3 separate regions of the Homo sapiens genome follow, and all the other regions are linked to region 3. The links are contacts of gene promoters, found by promoter capture Hi-C in human tissues and cell types (Jung and others, 2019). All regions are on one chromosome and are shown on one strand. Each heading gives the region's core, a stretch centred on a gene start or on the middle of the fragment in contact. The rest is flanking DNA. Distances are from core to core; before and after follow the strand shown. Region 1 has its middle 4.8 kb from the start of ZNF69. Region 2 overlaps C19orf67 (chromosome 19 open reading frame 67). Region 3 holds the start of FARSA (phenylalanyl-tRNA synthetase subunit alpha).

Region 1 (3,615 bases), core at 292-2,791, 1.1 Mb after region 3:
TCTTGTTAAGCTTCTAAGGAACGCCAGATTCTCCCCTCGTCGTGAGAGACATGAGGTGAAATTGACGTCAGGAGAAGGAAGCTGAATGGCCTTTGGGGGCTGGCCTGCAGGTTGTTGGACTTCGGGATATAGCAGAGAGAGAGCTTGGCATGATTTGTTGCCCCAGGCTGTGGAATTTTGGAAAAGAGCTACCATACAGCCTATGCCTGGTCGGCTGAAGGGCTATCCTAGTGGAAAGGAAACAGTCTGGGCCTCTAGTCTGCCATGCATACAAGCGTAACAATTGCTTTTGTTCAATGTGCGGACGGAATATTGAATCCATTCCAACCAGGTATTTACATCTTGATATCCTGTTTTAATTGCTAGGGTTTGTCTTAAATCTTTTACTTCTACAATATTTACTTTAGTAGTATCATTAGGTAGAAAACAGGTGGCAGTCTGATTAGAAGAAAGCTTAGAAGGAGAAGAGAAGGAAGGGGGTGAAGAGAATGAAGGATTAATAAAACGCATTTCGAAAGATCTTATGAGGTCTGTGCTGGCCAAGTTGGCTCCTGTTCCATAGAAGTGACTTAAAGTAGGTTTAGGGTCAGTAGAGGTGGAAATTTGTATGGGATTACATTGATTATACTGGCAATTGGGGAGGTGCTTTTTTTAGTGAAATGAATGTATGGTTTTAAGGATATACAGCCACCTGCTGATGAGGTCTAGCCTTGACATTTGGTTGTCCATAGGACATCATTCTAGCTATGACAGACTTGTTTTCTTATATTTGTTAAGGAACAAGAGTCTTGGTAGGGGGGGCCTTTCACCTTAAAGGGGCAGAGATACTTTTCTGAGGCTGAGACTTGTCTTTGACTTTGGAGATCTTTACAGGGTATGACTAGACATAGCATTAAACGTGATAACTTGGGGTGAGTTTGATTGAGTTACATTAATGACAAGGTGGTCAGCATTGGAAGGGGAAAAGAAGAAAGAGTAATAGAATAGATGTAAGAGGTTAAATTTTTCTTAGCTTTAGTTTGAGGGGGTTTTCCCCTGGAATAATGGCCTACGACTTTGGGGGTGGCGGTGCTTTCTTGACTCGGGTGTGATGGGTCTATCCTTTCTCTGCTGTCCAGACTGCAGTTTCAATGGTGGGAAGTACTAGGCCAGCTCCTCAGGCCGGTGTTGACGCACTGGGAACTCCAGGAGCCGCACCTGTACTGGAAAATTGTGAGTTTTGAGGGAAGAGAAAGTGGAAGATAAACCAAGTATGTAGGAATGTTGGCAGTGGATTGCTTTGAGAGGTAGTTTGGATTAATAGGAAGACAGAAGACATTTGAGTTATGGCAACTAAGTTTCTAGACTTGTTTGGCTAAGGATGTACATTTTCATACACATATAAACTTTAACTGTGCTATACATAGCTTGAGGTCTTTAATGGGTCCTCTAATTTAGGTGGGATAGGACTTCTTTCATAAGAGGTTTAAATAACATTTGAATTCCCTTCAGTGCCTACAGGAGAAACGGCAGCTGGTTCGGATTATCTGATTTGCTAGGTTATTTTCTTAACTCTTGAAAGATAGGATTTTTGGTGCCTGGGGACGTGGAAAATAGCTTTTTTTTTTTTTCTGGTAACTGAAGGTTATTTAACACTTGGGTTATTAACTCTTCATGAACAAGGCTTTGACCTTTATTATTGTCTGAAATTTTCTAAATGTATGAGCCACGATAAAGGTGTATTTAGAATCAATATAGATTAGTATAGATGGTTCCTTTGCAGTTACTTTAAAGCTTGACTAAGTGCAAACAGCTTACAAATTTGGGTAAACTATTAAACAATTTTTAAATTTTATTTCTCTAGGAACTTCTCTATTTATTATTGAACATCTGTTGAATCCTTTTTCCTTTAATCATTTTTGAAGGGGGTTTCTCTTAAGTTTGGCCGGACATTTGTATGGTAATCAGTTAAATCTAAACATGTGTGCTTCCTTTTTAGATTTGGATCTTTCGTTAAGAAACTTGTTAGGTTAAGCAAATTACTAGTAACATTAAACTATCATTTTTAACAGAATAGCCTCATATTTATACACATGTAATTCTTTTTTGGTGGTACATTTTAACATAGGTGACTTTAAAGAATCAGAGTTCTTTTCTGGTGGATATTTTCACTTTTAACACTGGCCTGACTATAATAAATGCTAGTGGATATATCCGCTGAAAGATTATCTACTTCTTGCTCAGGAAACTTAGCTGCGGGGATGCCAGGCTGCTTGGAGCCATCGCTGAAGCCCCGTATTACTTAGCCTCAGCAAAGTAAGGCAGATATCCTATAATGTAGTTTGCATGGGGCATAGGCTGGGGCCTGGCTCGCATGTCATGCAGAGCTGCCGTCAATACAGTGCCAGGACCTTGGACCAGCCAGTGGGCAGGAGCATGGGCTTTGCCGCTGCAGGGGTGCACTATGGGCCAGACAACGCTGACAACATGTTGCGGCAGATCCTTCATGTTGCTAGCCTGGCAAAAGCCATCTGGTGAATTAGGAGCTTGGAGTTCTTTAGGGGAGAGGGACTTAGGCTGGGGAAGAACAGACTTACTGGGCGATGCCTGAGGGGAAGGGTTGGGTATTAGGTGGGGAATGGTCTAGGGGATCTTGCGAGTTGTTCTTTTTGCTAGGATCCCCCAAGCCCCTTCCTTCACTGTCTTTTTCATTAAAGATGGTTCTATCTTAATAGGGCACATGTACAACTCATTTTCCTCCAAATATTAGTTTTTGACTTGCTCCTTTCAATCCTTGGAGGAGGGGAAAGGACAACTCCTTGCAACTAACATAGGGCATAATTTGTTTCTTCTCAGGAGGCAGGTCTTCTACTAGCAACATTTTCTATTAGAAGTTCACAAATCCATCCCTCATTCGACTTAAATTCTGGCCAGAAAACTAAGGGTTCAAGGATTCGTTCTTGAGTCTAAATGGAACAGCAATATTTTATCACTAATTGCTTTTTCTTATGTTTAGTCTTTTCATTATCTTTCTAATGTTTTAACATGAGACCTAGGGGACTATTAGGGGGGATATCTTTGTTGCTAACTTTGTCTTTTTTGCTTGTAATATTTCCTATACTGGGTCCTGGCTAGGCTCAATCCCTCGTGATAGGAATCTCTTGCCTAGGGGGGCTTGCTGTGGCTCAACCCCTCATATTAAGGATCTCTTGCCTATTTTGGGGGTTCCTTGTGGCTCAGCCTCTCAAATTAAGGATCTCTTGCCTATTTGGGGGGTTCCTTGTGGCTCAACCCCTCATATTAGGAGGTCTTTTGCCTATCCCTCACTGGAAGTGTGGCTAAGGCTCAATTCCACTATCCTTTAGCTCCACCTGCTGGAGGTTCCTTGCACCCTTCTTTCGCTTCATCCACTCTGGCCGCTTCCCTCGCAGGTTTGTTTCAGGTTCCTCTTAGCATTGATGGCAGGTCCGTATAAACCTGTGACAGGACCCCCGCAGGGCTGCCCTAAGCCGTGTGAGGTGACCACAGAACCGCAGATTGGACTCACTCGCTCCGCACAGCAGTAGTGCTTGTTACCATTCATGCACTTTCAACCCCCAGAATGCCCTGACACACCCCTCCGACTACCAAAGAATT
Region 2 (3,721 bases), core at 823-3,322, 1.1 Mb before region 3:
AAGCCCTCAACAGAAGTAGCTAGGAAGCTGATCACTTCTAATTACAGCTCCCTCCCCTCCTAGCTACTTTCTGTGCTATCGAGATACTTGGGAAGACACAGGCCAGAGTCCAGCCAATTCGTGCCCACAGATCCAGAAGCTGTGGTCCATCGGCCGATGGGTGCCCCTAGGACCAGCCGAGGATGACCTTTATTCATGGTAGGAGCTAGGGCAATAGCAACGTGGGCCTGGGAGCTGGAGGGGGAGGCAGAACCCCACCAAAGACAATCCACCTTCCCAAACACTTTGCTTCCCTTAGTAGTGATAGCATTTTATTGTGCCCTGAAAAGCACTTCATGCAGACCCCAGTAACAACCCATGGAGATCTATGCTATTGGCCCCATTTAACAAAGAAAACAGGGTGCTCAGAGAAGTTGTTACCTGCCCAAGGACACACAGCTAGCAGAGCGAATGGACAGGTCAGGACCAGTTATTCAGCCTCTAGGAGCCATTACTAAGTCTCTGATCAACAAGGAAACAAGTTTCCCCCGGGGGTTTTTCCCACCCGCAGCTGAAACAAAGCCTCTTTCACCTGAGCCTCTCACTCAAAGGGAGGGACTCCCGAGGGGCAGGGGGCACTCAAGTCCAGGCCTGTCTATCCCTGGCCCCCCCACCCCAGGATTTTGTGCCCGCAGCCGCTTGGGGACTACCAGCAGCTGCTGACCATCGGCTTCGAGGAGCCCACGCCCACGCTGGCCACCGACCTGCTGGTGCAGATCCTCACGGGCCAGGCAGGCCAGGCCCGGCCTCCGAGCGCAGCCGGGCCTGCGGGGTGGGCAGCGCAGGGGTCTTGAACCTGGGGAAGAGGGTAGGAGCTGGAACTTGACAGTTCCAAACTCCAGAATAGGGGGCAGGGGAGGGGCTCACTCGTTCTCGCAGTGCAGCCCGGCCTCGCCTTCCAAAGGGCCAGGCCGAGCTGACCTGTCTGCACCGAGTCCGGCTTGGCCGTGGGGCCCTGAATGCGGACACGTCAGTTTTGTGTTAAATAAAAGAAAGAAAGAGGTCACAGGCTCAGCGTCCGCTGCGAATGCCGCGCCCCTCCCCCGGGGGATTGCCCCACCCACTCGCGTGGCCTTCTGGGAAATGTAGTCTTTTGAAAGAAGCCTGGAATTCGCCAATAGGCGGACGAGAGTTTGGCGCATGCGCATAGGCGCACATGAAGCAAAAAGGGAAGTGGTGCCCGTCAACACCGGAACCCAGAAAACTGCAAGTTTAGGGTACCGGGGAAATTCAACGTCCACTGGAGGAAGAGACTTAAGGCTACGCCCACTCCCATATTTTGACCCGGAAGTTATTTATTTTAGCGTAGAAGACTACTTTTCCCGACGCGCCCCAGGAAAGTGCCCTCGATCAGTTTCCTAAGGGCCCGAGTTAGACTTTTTTTTTCTCTTCCAGCTTTTGGGACTTGGGGGCCGGACAGGTCGTCGTCTTTCTTGGGGTATCCGGGGTGCGGACAAGGTGGGAGAGCCCTACGGTATCCAAGCTTAGGATCTCTCAGCCTCTCTCTAATCTCGGACTGGAGAGGAGACCCTGGCTGAGAGAAATGAACTCACCTGCTCAAAGCTCCTGCGAGCAAGTGGCGGACCTTGGACCTGAACCGGGTACTTGTGATCGCAACCCGGTACTTGTGGCCCGTTGCAAGGAGGAAGGGTGTCCTCCTGAGCCAGGTGTCACTCAGCTGCGGGTTATACCCCTTTAATCCAAGAGGGACCCTTTTGGTTCTCCTCCCCTCCCCTCCCCTCCCCCCGCCCCCGGCAGCATTTTCATAGAGGAGACACCCAGAGCCCTGCCCTTATTTATGATTTTGAGCAAAGCACCTACCTTCCAGTCCCTGGCACATAGTATTAGCCTCCATTTCCAGATGATAAAAAAGGACGTTAGAGGTGAAATGAATCAATATTGAATGCCAACACTAGTTTCGCTCTTGTCGCCCAGGCTGGAGTACAATGGCATGATCTCGGCTCACTGCAACCTCCGCTTCCCAGGCTCAAGTGATTTTCTTGCCTCAGCCCCACGAGTAGCTGGGATTACAGGCTGATGCCACCAGGCCCAGCTAGTTTTTGTATTTCTAGTAGAGACGGGGTTTCGCCATGTTGGCCAGGCTGGTCTCCAACTCCTGACCTCAGGTGATCCGCTCGCCTCTGCCTCCCAAAGTGCTGGGATTACAGGCGTGAGCCACCGCGCCCGGCCACTATTGCTCTTCCATGGGTATTTCTGGTGACAATTTCTGACTGCATCAAGGATGTTTTTTAGTCCACAGCTGTGGTCTGAATGACATCAAGGAAATCCTGATGCTCCCTGATACCGCTTTGAGGGAGTCCCTGTGAGTTTTCCTGTGGCTCTAAGATGTTTTTCGGGGGGAGGGAAGGGTCTTGCTCTGTCACCCAGGCTGGAGTGCAATGGCGCAATCCTGGAACCTCCAACTTCTGCAAACTCTAACTCCTGGGTTCAAGTGATCCTCCCACTTCGGCCTCCTAAGCAGCTGGGAGTACAGGCAGCGACGATGCCCCTATTTTATTATTATTATTATATTATTATTATTATTGTAGAGAAGGGGGGGGTTCTTCCTATGTTGACCAGGCTGGTCTCGAACTCCTGGCTTAAGCTATCCTCCCGCTTCGGCCTCCCAAAGTGCTGGGATTACAGGCATGAGCCACCCTGCCCGGCCTTTAAGATTCTTTAGACTCGTGGGGTCCAATGGAAATATCAAGTGAGCTGCAAACGCAAATCACGTATGTAGTTTCAAATTTTCTAGTAACCACATAAAAAAATTAAGAGGTTAGGGCCAGGCGCCGTGGCTCATGCCTATAATCCCAGCACTTTGGGAAGCTGAGGCAGGCGGATCACGAGGTCAGGAGATTGAGACCATCCTGGCTAACACGGTGAAACCCCGTCTCTACTAAAAATACAAAAAATTAGCCGGGCGTGGTGGCAGGCGCCTGTAGTCCCAGCCATTCGGGAGGCTGAGGCAGGAGAATGGCGTGAACCCGGGAGGTGGATCTTGCAGTGAGCCGAGATCGCACCACTGCATTCCAGCCTGGGTGACACAGCGAGACTCCGTCTCAAAAAAAAATAAAAAATAAAAAATTAAGAGGTTAGATTCATTTTCGTGATATTTTATTTAACCTGTTATACCCAAAATATTATTTCAATGTATAATCCATGTAAAAAAATTATTGAGGTATTTTCCTTTTTTGTACTGTCTTAGAAATCTTGGCCGGACATGGTGGCTCATGCCCATAATCCCAGCACTTTGGGAGGCCGAGACAGGTGGGTCACTTGAGGTCACGAGTTCGAGACCAGCCTGGCCAACATGGCAAAATCCTGTCTCTACTAAAAATGCAAAAAAAAAAAACAAAAAAAAAAAAGGTGGGTGTGGTGGTGGGCGCCTGTGATCCCAGCTATTCAAGAGGCTGAGCCAGGAGACTCGCTTAAATCTGGGAGATGGAGGTTGCAGTGAGCCGAGATCGCACCACTACACTCCAGCCTGCGCAACAGAGCGAGACTCCATCTGAAAAAAAAAAAAAAAAGCCAGATGCAGTGGCTCACACCTGTAATCCCAGCACTTTGGGAGGCCGAGGCAGGCAGATCATGAGGTCAGGAGTTTGAGACCAGCCTGGCCAACATGGCGAAACCCCATCTCTACTAAAACTACAAAAATTAGCCGGGCATGGTGGCAGGT
Region 3 (4,015 bases), core at 556-3,055:
GCAAGCTCCACCTACCAGGCTCAAGTGATTCTCCTGCCTCAGCTTCCCGTGTAGCTGGGATTACAGGCACCCCCACTGCACCCAGCTAATTTTTGTGTTTTTAGAGGAGATGGGGTTTCGCCATCTTGGCCAAGCTGGTCTTGAACTCCTGACCTCAGGTGATTCACCCGCCTCAGCCTCCCAAAGTGCTGGGATTACTGAGCCTGGCCAGCAGATCTAGGATTCTAATCTACCTGTGCTGACGTAAGTCACCACTGCCCACATGTGATTACTGACCATTTGAAATGTGGTTGGTCCGAACTGAGATGTGTTGTAAGTGTAAAATACGCATCAGATTTTGAAGATTTAGTATGAAAAAAAGTGCAATTTTTTTTTTTTTGAGACGGAGTTTCGCCTTGTCACCCAGGCTGGAGTGCAATGACACGATCTCGGCTCACCACAACCTCTGCCTCCCAGGTTCAAGCGACTCTCCTGCCTCAGCCTCCCAAGTAGCTGAGATTACAGGCATGCGCCACCACGCCCTGCTAATTTTGTATTTTTAGTAGAGACGGGGTTTCTCCATGTTGGTCAGGCTGGTCTCAAACTCCCGACCTCAGGTGATCCACCCGCCTCGGCCTCCCAAAGTGCTGGGATTACAGAGGTGAGCCACTGTGCCCGGCCGAGTGCAAAATATTTTATTAGTCATCTTTTTTTTTGTAAGAGTCAGGGTCTGGCTGGCTGGGCGAGGTGGGTCATGCCTCTAATGCCAGCATTTTGGGAGACCGATGCAGGAGGATAACCTGAGCCTAGGAGTTTGAGACCAGCCTGGGCAACATGGCCAAAACCCATACTTAAAAAAAAAAAAAAAGCTGGGTGTGGTGGCGCGCACCTGCAGTTCCAGCTACTCAGGAGCCTAAGGTTGGAGGATCCTTAGAGCCTGGGAAGTCAAGGCTGCAGTAAGCCATAATTGCACCACTGCACTCCAGCATGGGTGACAGAGCAAGACCCTGTCTCAAAAAAGAAAGATGTTTTGCACTGTGTTTCTATAGGACAGTGCTAATCTAGGCCATGCAGTATTTGCACTGACGTTACTCTCAGCGCACAGGGGTGGGAGGATCTGGAAGGTTTATAATTTATGACTTCATTTCCACCAACTCTCTGTAGAACCTTGGGCAAGTCATACCACCCTCTGAGCCTCAGTTTTCTCACATGTGTAATGCGGTTATATCAGTATCTACATCATAAAGTTTTGGGGATAAATGAAATACTACACGTGAAGTACTCAGTTCTGGGCTAAGTACTACCACATACGAGGTAGTCCACACAGGTTAGGTGCCACCTTGACTTACTAGGTGAATTCCTTTTCCCTCTATAAAAAGGGACGGTACCTACCCAGCCTTCCTTTGAAATTTTAAAAGTAGCTGACATCGCCAAAATGACCATCTCTGGAGCCCACCACCCACCGCCTCTCCTAGGGCAAGAGAGAATACCAGAAGGGCAGAGGGTTCTGTAACCCAGAGACGGGGAAGTCCAAGGTCACACAGCCCGCTCGAAGTGAGGCTAGATAAAACTCAAAACAGGGCGGTGCTTCTGACCTTGAGATAATCAATTTTACCCCTCTGGTCAACCAGACGCCATTGATGGAGCCAGGGTGGAGGTGGGAACTGAGTCCCATGCACCTTTTGCGGCTCCGTCGCCACACTCAAGATGACGACACATTGAGCCCTGTTCTACAGTTAGACACATTCAAGATGGCGGTACACACTCCGGTTCCGGTTCCGGTGGCTCAGCTCCCCCCGCCCACCCGGGCCCGGACACGCTGAGCACACTGGAAGGAGTCATGGCGGATGGTCAGGTGGCGGAACTGCTGCTCCGGCGGCTGGAGGCGTCTGATGGCGGCCTGGACAGCGCCGAGTTGGCGGCTGAGCTGGGCATGGAGCACCAGGCGGTGGTGGGCGCCGTGAAGAGCCTTCAGGCGCTGGGCGAGGTGAGCCGGGCCCGTGATGCCGGACCGCCTTGCCCTTGCACCTACAGTCCCCTTGCCACGGGCGCTCTACGTCCAAGCCAAATTCCCTCAGGCCTAGTTTGGGGTAGCTGTATATGTGTCCACTCCGGGATGTGCGGGCGGGAAGTGGGACGAGTGAGGGCCCAGACGCACGGATGTTCCTCATGCAATAAACGTTTATTGAGGCACGGTCAGCGTGGGTAGAGGGTACGATGATGGACGAGGAAGTCGCGGTTGCTGCCCTCACGCAGGTTGCGACGTAATAGGAAGGTGCTTCAAGAACCAGAGTGATGGGGGAAAACAGGGGACCCAGCTGTGACAGCTGACCCAGCCTTGGGGGTCAGGGAGAGCGGCCTGGTGCAGGTGACGGCTGAGTCTGTTCTCTGTTGAGGAAAGTGATAGCACTTTAGAGATCAGTGGCCGGGATCTTGGGGGATGGCAGGCGGCAAGGGAGACCAGCATAGCTGTAATTGCAAAGCCTCTTAGGTCTTTACCTCATGAGGGAACTGGGAAGCGATAGCAGGAGCTAGAGCCGGTCAGATGAGTGTGCTATCCACATCACCTTTGGGAAGAATTGGCATGGACAGGACTGGAGGTGAAGGGATGAAAGAAGAAGCTGGCACTTCCCCAAGCTGGAGGGCATGATGTCTGGCTATGGGAAGGAAGCTTGGGGGAGGTGGGGAAGGCGTGGGATTCAGGACAAGGCAGGGGGCGCACAGATGAAGTCCAGCCTTCTGACTTGGGCAAGTGGACAGTGACAGAGTCACAGGCGTAGGATGCTGAGGGGCCCGTGGGCCACCCAGAAGGCTAGATCCATGGGGCCAGGATCTGGGCTGTTTATCCGTAGAGCTCATGTTCTGTGCCCCACTTTGGTCTCAGCTTGTTTGTCCAATCCATTCCATAATCCTGGCTGATGGCCATGTTATTCCCATTTTGCAGATGTGACAACTGATGGTCAGTAACATAATCAGTGTGAATAGAAGAGGCCGATGAGCCCAGATTTGAAATTAGGCACTCAGGCTGCAGAGCCCATAGTCCTCAATGCAGAGGAGAGATGGCAGCTGTGTTGTGTGGGGTGACAGTGCCTTGACCAATATGATCTGACATTTGTATACGTCACAGAGGGTTAAATAATATAAGGAGGTGAGGTTCAATCTAATGACAGTAATAGCCATAAAAATAATTATAGTAATTAGAATTTATGCCGGGTGCAGTGGTCACACCTGTAATCCCAGCACTTTGGGAGACCAAGGCGGGTGGATCACGAGGTCAGGAGTTCAAGACCAGCCTGGCCAAGATGATGAAACCCTGTCTCTACTAAAAATACAAAAAAAAATTAGCCAGGCGTGTTGGTGGGCACCCGTAATCCCAGCTACTTGGGAGGCTGAGGCAGAGAATTGTTTGAATCGGGAGGTGGAGGTTGCAGTGAGCCGAGATCGCACTCCAGCCTGGGCGACAGAGCGAGACTCCGTCTCAAAAAAAAAAAAAAAAAAAATTTATGCAGTGTTTGTCACGTGGTAGGCACTATATATTCTTTCTGAGTATTAATTTAGCTACTCCTTAAAATCATCTGAGGTAGAACCCATCACACCTTTCTCTTATGGATGAGAAGAGTCACTGAGAGGTTAAGCAACTTTCCTGAGGTCACACAGTAAGTGAAGGGCAGAGTTGGGATTAGAATGAAGTGGGAGCCAGGCCCTGTGCACTCTACTTACCCTTGTTGTCCTTGTCTTCATGACTCTGGACCTGGAACCTCAGTTTTTGTTTGTAATGTGGACCTCCAGGGCCCGTCTCTGACATTCTGGGCACTGACATGTGAACATTTAAACATGGAGACAGGCTGGGTATGGTGGCTCATGCCCATTATGCCAGCACTTTGGGAGGCTGAGGAAGGAGAATCACTTGAGGCCAGGAGTTTGAGACCAGCCTGGACAACATAACAACACCCTGTCTTTAAAAAGTAATTTAAAGGGCCGGGCACGGCGGCTCACGCCTGTAATCCTAGCACTTTGGGAGGCGGAGTCGGCCGAT

The links. The method cuts DNA at HindIII sites, captures the fragments that hold promoters and counts their contacts. A contact is called where the count stands out against the background at its distance.
Region 1: a contact is called between a fragment that was not itself captured here and the fragment with the promoter of FARSA in region 3, in 1 of the 25 tissues and cell types used here (dorsolateral prefrontal cortex).
Region 2: a fragment that was not itself captured here is called in contact with the fragment with the promoter of FARSA in region 3 in 1 of the 25 tissues and cell types used here (lymphoblastoid cells).

The regions. Positions count from the first base shown.
Region 1 is chr19:11,881,133-11,884,747 of GRCh38, reverse strand. No RefSeq gene overlaps it. Among named protein-coding and RNA genes, the nearest start is that of ZNF69, 4.8 kb to the left of the region's middle. RefSeq lists an enhancer at 3,248-3,427. The HindIII fragment of the contact is 6,745 bases long and covers 1-3,615 here.
Region 2 is chr19:14,078,946-14,082,666 of GRCh38, reverse strand. C19orf67 (chromosome 19 open reading frame 67) reads left to right here. Exons shown (of 6, transcript NM_001277378.2): 5 at 64-198; 6 at 659-1,043. The coding sequence ends at 833. Among named protein-coding and RNA genes, the nearest start is that of C19orf67, 5.0 kb to the left of the region's middle. RefSeq lists enhancers at 597-656, 917-1,206. The HindIII fragment of the contact is 5,618 bases long and covers 1-3,721 here.
Region 3 is chr19:12,931,501-12,935,515 of GRCh38, reverse strand. FARSA (phenylalanyl-tRNA synthetase subunit alpha) reads left to right here and starts at 1,805. Exons shown (of 13, transcript NM_004461.3): 1 at 1,805-1,966. The coding sequence starts at 1,820. FARSA-AS1 (FARSA antisense RNA 1) reads right to left here. Exons shown (of 3, transcript NR_149078.1): 2 at 2,479-2,546; 3 at 2,220-2,367. RefSeq lists a silencer at 465-570 and enhancers at 1,607-1,901, 1,623-2,122, 2,133-2,202. The HindIII fragment of the contact is 13,322 bases long and covers 1-4,015 here.